Linked DNA regions of Homo sapiens: region 2 is linked to region 1. Evidence: promoter capture Hi-C in 16 types of primary human blood cells and fetal thymus (Javierre and others, 2016). All regions are on one chromosome and are shown on one strand. Each heading gives the region's core, a stretch centred on a gene start or on the middle of the fragment in contact. The rest is flanking DNA. Distances are from core to core; before and after follow the strand shown.

What was found. Contacts are between HindIII fragments. The CHiCAGO score rates a contact against its expected background, and 5 or more counts as called.
Region 2: a contact is called between a fragment that was not itself captured here and the fragment with the promoter of VLDLR in region 1, in 1 of 17 cell types (megakaryocytes). The highest score is 5.3, in megakaryocytes.

What each region holds. Positions count from the first base shown.
Region 1 is chr9:2,618,881-2,623,909 of GRCh38, reverse strand. VLDLR (very low density lipoprotein receptor) reads right to left here and starts at 2,123. Exons shown (of 19, transcript NM_003383.5): 1 at 1,639-2,123. The coding sequence starts at 1,720. It overlaps VLDLR-AS1 (VLDLR antisense RNA 1), which reads left to right and starts at 1,537. Exons shown (of 4, transcript NR_015375.2): 1 at 1,537-1,810. RefSeq lists silencers at 989-1,078, 1,089-1,178, 1,449-1,718, 2,329-2,408 and an enhancer at 2,287-2,581. The HindIII fragment of the contact is 5,619 bases long and covers 1-3,031 here.
Region 2 is chr9:2,117,123-2,122,151 of GRCh38, reverse strand. It overlaps SMARCA2 (SWI/SNF related BAF chromatin remodeling complex subunit ATPase 2), which reads right to left. Exons shown (of 34, transcript NM_003070.5): 26 at 2,617-2,694. Among named protein-coding and RNA genes, the nearest start is that of SMARCA2, 100 kb to the right of the region's middle. The HindIII fragment of the contact is 4,642 bases long and covers 284-4,925 here.

The sequences.
Region 1 (5,029 bases), core at 874-3,373:
TACTCATCTATTAATGATTAATGCTAGCGTTTGGAAACTCTTGTAAGCAGAGCTTTTCTAGGCTCTCAGGCTTGTTACACATCAGATTCCATGTTCACTACACATTCGTCCTCTTCAAAGAGTCCAGGCAGGGGAAGGCATTTGAGAGAACAGCCCGTAAGAGCCTGTGGAGTCTCCTACTTTCCATTGAAAATAACACTGCCCATGCTGCCCACTTAAGAGTCCGCGGAACCATGTGACCAACCTAAACGTGATCGCACCGCTAACCAATCGCAGAGGGCGGAAAGGCCAGTCCCAGTTCACACGCTCCGGACAGTGGCAACCAAAGGGCAGGGGCATTCGGAGACGTAAAAACCCCAGGCGCTGCCCGACAGGCTCCTTGACCACATGCTTTAAAGTTCGCTCTCACTTCAGGAGCACGTGACTGCAGGCCGGCAGGGCCCCTGAAGCCACCCGGCGACGGGAGCCAGGGACTCTGGAACGGGTGTTAAGGGCCTGGGCGGCTTTCAGTCCCAATTCCCTGCAGCTGGCAAGCAAGCCCCTCGGCGTCACATCTGAAGATCACTTCGGGGACGCGCTAGGATTCCGACTGAGTCCTCTCAGAAAGGCTTCCTGTCGCCTGTCCAGGAAAGTTACGAGGCCCCAAGTGGGAACGTGGCTGACGACCAGGCGGGGCCCCCAGGCCCCCGCGGCAGAGTCTGGGGACCCGACAGTAGTCACCGCCGCCCTTCCCAACAAGACAGGGCCACACGCTCGCTCTCGCGCTGCTCCTTTGAGCTATTGTGTAGAATGAAGGCTAATTACAGTCACTAGCCTAGGACTCAATTCCTCTCGAGGAAACGTCACCGGGAAGGAGGGTCAGCAAACTAACCTGATTAAGTCTCCCCTCCACTCCCCCTCCGCGTTCAGCTACACGGGAGACCCGAGCGGTTTCCAAACGCCGCCCGAGGCGGGGAAAAGGGAGAGGAGAAGCGCCCAGAGCAGAGTCCTGCGTAAAGCCCCGCCGCTCCCCTACCCCGCACGCCGGAGAGGCGGCCCCGCGCCGGGGGAGTCGCAGTCCGGGTGCCCTCGGCTCCGCGGAGCCTCCCGGCCGCCGCCCACCGAACGTGCGCCAGCTCGCGGCCGCCGGAAGACTCTGAAGCCCGGCCGGCCCCTGGCGCTCCGCGTCCCCGGAGGCGCTCACCTTCTCCCCCCGTCCGCTCCCGCACTCCCCGGGGTTCGAGGGTGCGCCCGAGGCTGCCGCACACGTCTTGGCCCTCTGCCTCCTTCCCAACACTGCGCCTGGCAGAGGAGGCAGAACCATTGTTCAATGCTCAGAAGCCCACGCACCTCGGCGCCCGTCAAGAGGGCGAGAAACGAGGCGAAGCAGCGGCTCTGGGGGAGGCGGAGTGAGGGGCAGAAGACTAGTTCAGGCGAGGCGTCGGGGCACCCCGAACCCCGCTGTTCCCCAAGCCCGGCTCCCTTTAGCCTCGGCGCTGACAGCTCAGAGGCGCCACCACGGAGGGGAGGGAGGGAAGGCGAGGAGAACCGAGAGGCGCCTCCTAGGAGGCGGGTGGGCAAACGGAGACCTACGCCTCGGGGTCTCCCGGTGCCCCGGCTGGGTCCCGCCCGCCGGCGGAGGGGCGCGTCCTCACTCACCGGTTCCGGTGGCGCCGCTCTCCCGGGGCGCCCAGCACAGCGCGAGCAGCAGCCAGAGCGCCCAGAGCGCGGACGTGCCCATGGTGCCCGCCTGGATGGTGCCGCCGCCGCCGCCGCCGCCGCCGTTCGCTCCGCACGACAAGTTACCAGTCCTTCCGAAAGGAGGAAGAAGGTGGGGGCGGGGAGGGGAAAGGGGGAGAAGGAGGGGAAGGAGTTGGCGGGGGAAGGGAGCGGGGAAGAAGAGGGCACCCCCTCCCCTACAACTTGCACAGTCTCCTCCCCACCCACCCAGCCACCTCCCCGGGCTGCAGCAGCAGTGCAAGCCGAGCCTGCGGGCAGAAAATAATGCAGGCGCTGCAGAGGAGGGGAGGCAAGGGGAGAGGAGGGAAGGGAGAGGGGGTGGGGAGCCGAGAGCAGAAGAGAGCACAGAACGGAGAGGAGCCGGTAGCGGAGCACCCGCACCGGCGGCGGCCGGAGAGCGGGGTGAGCAGCGGGGAGGGGGCCGGAGGGGGCGTGGTCAACGGGAGGCGCGGCGGGCGGGCGGGAGCGCGGCGGCTTCGGCCCTCCTTTCCCTCGACGCGCTCCTCTTGCACGCGCCGGGCAGCCGGGTGCCCGCGCGGGGAGCGTGCGAGTGTGAGCGTGCGTGAGTGACCGCGGTCGTGGTCGTGGCTGCCGCCGCCGCCACCCGGACCGCTCTAGGGGCCCGGCTGCTCCGCGCGTTCGCCTGGGGCTCACGGGGGCCCGGGGCGACCGCTGGTTGGCTCGCGCGCCGCCCTCGCCTCCAATCCCGGGTGCCTGTCCTAATTTCCTGATCCAGGGAACCTGCCGCCGCAGCGGCTGTGCGCTCCCTACAGTCATTACTGTACCCTCCCGGCAGCCTCCGGCAGAACACGCAGCAGCAGCAGCAGTTAGCGCTGATGCAACTATCGTTGCTGTTGCCACCGCCTCCCCACTGACGGGGCGTGCACCTGGGGGGTACTTGCAGTTTCCAGGGGCAACAAGCATCTCTCTACCACCCTCTCCTGCGCCCCTGAGAGAGGCTGGTAGGTAGCATCTTCTTCGGGCCTCCTCTATCCACTCAGAAAGTGATGAAGCGGAGGGGCTCCAAACGTTTGGGCTGCTCAAAAGTGGGGTTTGGGATGCCGGTCTCAATCGCACGCTGAGATGCCGTTTTGCCGAAAACTAAATGTGTCTTTAAGTGAGAGAGTGTGTATGTTTGAAAGAGAGTGCGCGCGGTTGTGGCTGGTCCTCTGTAATAGAACAAGACTGAAATAACCCAGCCTGGGATGAGGAGAAGGGAAATTGCTAGCGCAGCTTTGCATTTGCTCATCAACGATTATAGTTAATTGCTAATTGCACAAAATGATAGTTTGAGGGCCTGTAATTAAAAGCTTAACCTTTTCTTGTTTGGAAGAGAGGGGCCCCATACGTTTATTCCTCTTGATATACTTTGTAACATTCAATTACAAGAATCGAGGAAAGAATAAAGGAAGCAAAGACAAGACTCCTAGAAAGGGTTGGTTCTTCTTTTGTGCCTGACAGTACCTGAGTCTATAATTTGCTTTTTGTGTACTTCAGTTTTCTTGCACACTTAGCCCTGGTTGAGGTGCATTGTCTGCTGTGGTCTGTTGAGCATCTAACCAGAGTGGGAGGGCACATCGAGCGATTTCACTTTCTTAAATAAAAGGTTTTTGGTATTTTGAAAAAGTTGTTTTTATCTTAATTCAAACTTGGAAGGTTTCAATAATATCATATTCTGACTCTATTCTGTTGGTGATCTGAAGAGCAGCGGGCACTGCCTCACTGTCTTCTCCTTGCCCTGGTTCTCCTGGAAATTTGTCAAGGCTAGCAATCAGAGGAGATGTTTATTAGGAACTTACTATATCCAGGAGACACACAGGAGAGGAAAATTCCAGTCAGGATAGGTTTCTGTGGGCCAAAGATATCCTGATTGTGACTGCTAAGCATGAAAGGGCTTAACTCTACGTATGGATGGTATCTTGCACTATAGCTCATTTTGAATGCTATTTTGCCCACCCTGTGGTTACATAGTTGATACAAACTGCAGCAGCCACACAGGTTGCATGTGAAACAACTGAAATTTGTTTGTATGACATTTAGTAGTGAAGATGCATGCCGGTGTTATTCACCTAATGGCATTGAGATGTGATAGGAAAACCTTAGTGCATGATGTCTTTCATATTCTCAGGGTTCTGAAATGCCATCTGATGAGCTACTGCTTTACAGAAGAGGAAAGGAGTAGAAGGGATGGGTGGAATCAATACAAAAAGAGGCAGCATTAATAAACAGTCATATGACTTGTTTTTAATACTTTACTCAGAGATACAGGTATACTACAAGCTATACATTGATATGGTATAATAAGACTTAACTTTGAAAAACGTGTGTGAGTACTTTCTAATTCTCCAAGGGATATAAATAAACTTTCAGTGAACTTAGCTGCAGCTCTGTATTCAATCCTGTAGCTTTTTTGTTGACTCAAAAGAAAGCATAACTTTTGGCTCCATCTCTGATTGACTGTGTAACTTGGGAAAAATCACTGTGCCTCTCTGTGTCTGCCTTTTGGCCTGTAAACTGAAAAGAAAGCCAAGCCACATTATATCAAAGTGCTCCGTGGCCTCAAGGACCAGCTCTCTGCAAGGTGTTGTTTATTAGAAGAAAAAGGTTGTATGGAGAAATTCATTGGATTATGATAGAAAGTAGCTAATAACTAAAAAGATAAATTGATGATAAGTGGATATTGAAGTGGTTGAACTAACAGAGCTAATTGATCATAAGTGGAGACTGAAATGGTTGAACTAACTGGGTTCAGAGAAGTTGACACTGCTGGATTCCCGACGCCGTCAGGTAAATGCAGAGGCAATCCCATTCACTCCTACAATCCACCACATTCATTTATTTGTTGAAGCAACACATAGTGAGCATCCCTGGCTAACGGGCACTGTGCAAAGTAGTGGGCATACAGAAGTGCTTATCTAGGAAGCTCAGCATCTGGTAGGGGAGGCAGGCAAGTGGGCAACTGTAGTACCCTATGTATAGCACTCTGATTAAGAGATGCTTAAAGTGCTAGAAGATTGCAAGGAAGAAGCAGCTATTCTGGCTGCAGGATGAAGGTATCAGAAAAGGCTTCACAGAGCGTTTGTCTCTGAGCTTTTTTCATAATTTTTACCCGGTGATCTGAATTCTCCCTACTTCTGGACACATGGTAGGATTGGACGTCCTGGCCCCCTTATGGTTGGATGGGGTCGAAAGACTAACTTTGGCTAATTATTTGTGAGCCTAAGTTACAGGGTGCCACTTTCAGACCGGAGCACTTAATTGCTTATGTGAAACCCTCTCTTTGTGTCTGCGTGGTGACAAGAAATGTTTA
Region 2 (5,029 bases), core at 1,355-3,854, 500 kb after region 1:
GATAGAAAAGTAAATTATGCACTTGTTTCTTTTTTCTTTTAGGAAAGGTAGATTCGATTACATAAGATAAGCTTAAAGTCTTAATAACTGCATCTCTCCCTAGAGATTTCTACCCACAAAATACCAATATAATTAATTCAACATTATGGCAAAAGTCAAACTTACTATTTAGTTACTTTGTGAATAATTGGTCTTGAGATCTGATTATAAACCTTATGCTTACAAGTACAATTAGTTTTAAAAGTGCTTTTTCCCTTTGTAGAGAACATAGCATCTAAAAGCTTAATGTTTGTATGTTAGCAAAATGTCTCAGATACTTATCTTGAGCTGCCAAAGATCTTTTTGGTAAAATTCCTAAGTAATTGGTATAAAAGATACTTTTTCTGAAGTTACATTTTTAGAAAGAGAAAGCAAGACATGCTTTTTTTAAAAGACGTTATTTTAAATAAACTATCTGCTTATCATGTGTAAACCAGTGTCTATGATACAAAATCAAATAATAAGTTTGCATTAATTTTATAGAGAACTCACTCTTTTCTAATAATGGATAAAGAGTTTAAATATTTAAAATCCAAAGATTTATTCTAGCTCACATTCCATTCTTGTTTCTCACCAAACTTTTTAATCTGTAGCTGGCAGAGATTCAAATTTTATTTCCTGCCCCCAAGTGGAGGTGCTAAGGAATAGTGAATTGGCCAAAGGCGGCCGGTGGATTAGAAGAAACTAAACCAAACCTAAAATCTGTCTAATCCTCAAAATAGAAGCCAGCCTTTAAGAAACCAGCAGAAAATTCACAAAATCAAAGTGCCTACAAAAAGTGTTCCCTAGCCAGCCTCACCTGTGTTACAACCCTGTTCTTTGAGTGGTAAAATAGTCCCAAATTAAAAGAAGGCTGTGCCTTCCAAGATATTCAGATTGTTTCTGAGGTTTTCAATTTCTACAAATAGCCCAAAAGTAAGGCAGGAAAGTACACTCACCCCCTTACTTCAGGGCTGCTGAAAGAATTCTCCATTTCTGGGCCTAATCTAATTTGTATAATGGCAAGCAGCTTGTCCTCTCCAGTGTCTTGAGAGTATCTGCGGCTTTAGCAGTGCTGAATTATTGCCTAACAGTGATCAGCTGAGGGTCTCTTGCTTGGGTGTTCCCCAGTAATCTGCCTTTTAATTAGTTCTTCAAGGACAGAGGGGATGTCTATTTCTGATGGGTATCTTTAACCTCCCTAAATAGAGAATATTGTAATCTTTGATTATGCTGACCAGTGTGAGTTAAGAAATCTAGAATTTATGAATGCCCTACATTGACCATGCTGTTAAGTCTTTCTTACTACCATTCCTCTCTGAAATAGCTTTACTTGGGAAGGGTGGTTCATTTCGGGGACGGAGGGAGAAAGGGAAGTGCATATTCCAGTTTAGTAGTTATTCCCACAGCTACCTGAATTTTCCTGAGAAAGAAAATTTTATTGTGGATCATTATATACAATCAATGTTCCCAGAAAAAAGCCACACACACAAAACCCCAAAATAACATAAGCCTCTCCAAACAGGTGGAGTTCCATTCTGTCTAGGCTAAAAAGGTGGAGATTGCAAACCCTGTGGATCATATTTGGCCCACAGTTGTGTTTTGTTTGGCATGCAGTGTTATATAATAACTTAAAAAGTTGGATTTAGTTGCAGTGTTTTAAAATCTAGAGATCACATATAAACACCTAGACTTCAAGCTCCCCTTGAAAATTTGTCATTTCTGGCGACATAGGTCTCACATTTCTACCTTGCAGCTCTGTCCCCCCATAGACAAAGCATCTCCAGTACACCTACCTCTGCCCACTTGCTTCACACATGCAAATTACTCATGTAAGATCTGATGGCACTCAAATTTGGGACCTCTAACTTTAGGGTTCTGCAGCATTCAACCACCAAAGTTGTGGTTTATATTTACTCTCTCTGTAATCAGTCTTTGATGAAGATGAAAATGATTGAAGATACTGGAGGGAAATCCAACTGATTTTGATCCTTAAATGAAGGCTACACCTTTATGCACACCTTGAAGGTTCCCATTCATTTAAGCGGGCTCTCGTCAACAATCTGAAAAGGCACACCTGTGTGTTGTTTTAGCTGTTGTCCACCTATCTCCCTAAGGAGCATGTTGCTTTGATCCTGTAAGGGCACTGTTGTAAGTTCCAATGCCTATAGGAGCCAGGTAGGCTTCCTGAATGACACTGGCCTGGGATTAGAAACGAACTGGGAACAGGAGGGCGTCTATGGTAAGCTGTAGACCGCGAGGCCTGTCCAGAGAGTGCAGCTGCTACTCAGCCCTGGCCAACTGTTTCCACACAAAGATGTGGGCCTGGTACTGCCCGATCTCATTTTTCAAGAGAAGCCAGAAATCAGGATTCTTTTTTATGTTGGCAATGAATGGGAAATTTTAAAAAACGCTGCGTGGGCCAAACAAAATATGTCTGCAGGCTAACTCCAGCCAGTTTGCAGCCTCTGAACTGAAGGAAAGGCATAGGCTTTACGTATGAAGTTCTGCCAGGCACGCAGGCTGCAGACATTCTGCTTAACAGAAAAAGGGGCAGAGGTATAAAGCATTTGTGTTCATGATTTTCTGTAACATTACCATAAAAAGGTCAAATTCTTCTTCTCGTCGAGCAATCATTTGGTTCAGAGTCTCATCGTCCGGTACTTCATCTTCTTCCTGGGGTTAAAAACAGAGTGATTTTAACCAGTGGACAGCTGGGGCAAGGTACAAACAAGTAAGTGATCTGTCCTCCAGACCAGAGGGGTCCCATTTCTCAAGGCAGAAAGAAAAGGGAAGGGGTTGCTGGATTTAGTCCTTGACGTTACTATTTTACAAGCTATTAAAACCATCTTCCCAGAGCAAAATCCGTTCAGGGAGGAAACTGTGGTCCACTATAAGAAATATGAGTTCTCCTGGATGTGTATCTTGATTCTGTTACTTTTACAACAAGTTACTTAATGTCTCCTCGCTTCAGTGACCTCATTGGTCATATGGGTATGACATCTATTTCACATGGGGATGTAAGATTTTAATAAGGACATCCATATGAAAAAGTACCTAACATTAATTCTTTTAATTCCATTTACCTTATGCCAAATATAAATGCTTATTTTCAAATCCTTACAAAAGACATAAGTATGTGAAACCTTGTTACTAGGCACTAAGACAATAAAAATCACATATATGTGCCAAATATATAGCCTTTGAAGTGTGCTTAATATATTTCTATGGGTATTATTGTTAATGATTGGAGCTATGGATGGGATAACTAAAAAGGTATCAGTAACAAAAAAAACCTCAAAATTATACTTAATTAAAATAATTTAAATGAAGCAGAGAAAGCAATTACATATGGGCTAAAATTTTCATTTTATATTACGTCAAACAAAGGTACATTATCTCTCTGCTAATTCCTCAGAAACCAACAGTTCTCAGGATTTTTAGCAATGTTATAGGATGACTTCCACACTTAAAAAATGATTCTAAAAGTTCGGCATATGCTTCAGGATTTATCTTCCCAAATTATTTTTATCATATGCTGAGTGGGCTTGTTAGAAATCAAACGGGGAATTTCAGTGTATCAGTCGAGGGAAGAAAGAGGAAAACACAGAACTTCAGACATCCAATTTCACAAACTGTATATTCAAAAAGAGGCAACTTGTTTTAGAGAAAGAGTATGAGTGTACTAGCGGCTCAAATGAGATGACTGTGTCGGCTCCCAAGATAACGTCTTTCGCACTGCAGGAACTTAATAAGTGTTAGAAATGAATGCAATCCAATAAAGTAAAAAAATCTACAATTCAAGATAATAATTATTTCTGAAAAACCTTCTATTCTAGTTTGCCTCCAGATTGATTAAAGTCAATTTGTCTAAATATTACATTTCATCTGACAAGGACACAGACTAGCTGGGAGTGGGTTCAGACTTCACAGTACAAAATATCTGGTAATGTCTCCTCTGGTGAACAGATGTCCCGCTTCGCCTACTTTCTTCCTAGAACCACACATTACCCTCTCATCACCTGGACCATGAGGGGCTCAGACAACCCCATGCCCAAGATGAAAAGATTCTCTTGTAAAGTGCCTGTTTATGACCTTCATGGAAAACCAAATAGCTGGAAGTGCACAATGCATCTTCCTGGGTTCTCTGCCCCAGCACTTCATGGTCGCATCAACCATGGTGATGCCAGCCTATGTTGTCCTGATCTTTCAGAACCAGAGTCTTTGACTGCAGTCTCTCAGTGTTTTCAAACATCTTTACATCAGGACACAAGCCCCCCTGAAAACGGCAACATTTTTCTGACACACTGGCAGCCAAGAAGGGACAGGAGCCTCAGCAAGGCTGCTCACAGCTAGCCTTGATGGCAGGACAACTGGGAGGGGAGTGCACGTCAGGCCCCACCTGGCAGCCCTCGGGCCCAGGGGAGATCAGCAACTCCCTGCGGCTTAGGAAGGCTGGAAAACTCCAGGCTTCCTTGATTCTCAACCAGATCAGGTACTATTTTCACAAGGCCTACACAAAACAAATAAGCAAAAATGTAGTGGAGACGACTGGCTGAGTGTCAGCTCTGCTCATATCTGCTTTGTCACAGGATAGATCATTCGCCATATTGTTTTTTTGGAAATGTCCAAGTGTATAAACAACAAAAAAATCACCTGACAATTTGACTCCATATCTGTATCAAATATTCAATTTCTAGAATCAGAAACTATAAATAATTTGAGATAAAAATTTTTCAAATGTGTGTGGATAGTGAGTGCATGTGCATATGTATTTTTTATCATTTTCATGAAACTCAGTGGATAGCTAATCAAAAATATAAGACGGACAAATTAGGAGGCATAATACAAAAGTGCTCTTCAATTTGCAAATGGGTTCATTTCAGGATACCTTTAAATATCAAGCTTTACTTCACATTTAGATTCATTTTAGAAAAAAAAAATATACAGACAGTCTCTGGCTTAACAACGGCTGGACTTAGGATTTTTCGACTTTATAATGGTGCAGAAG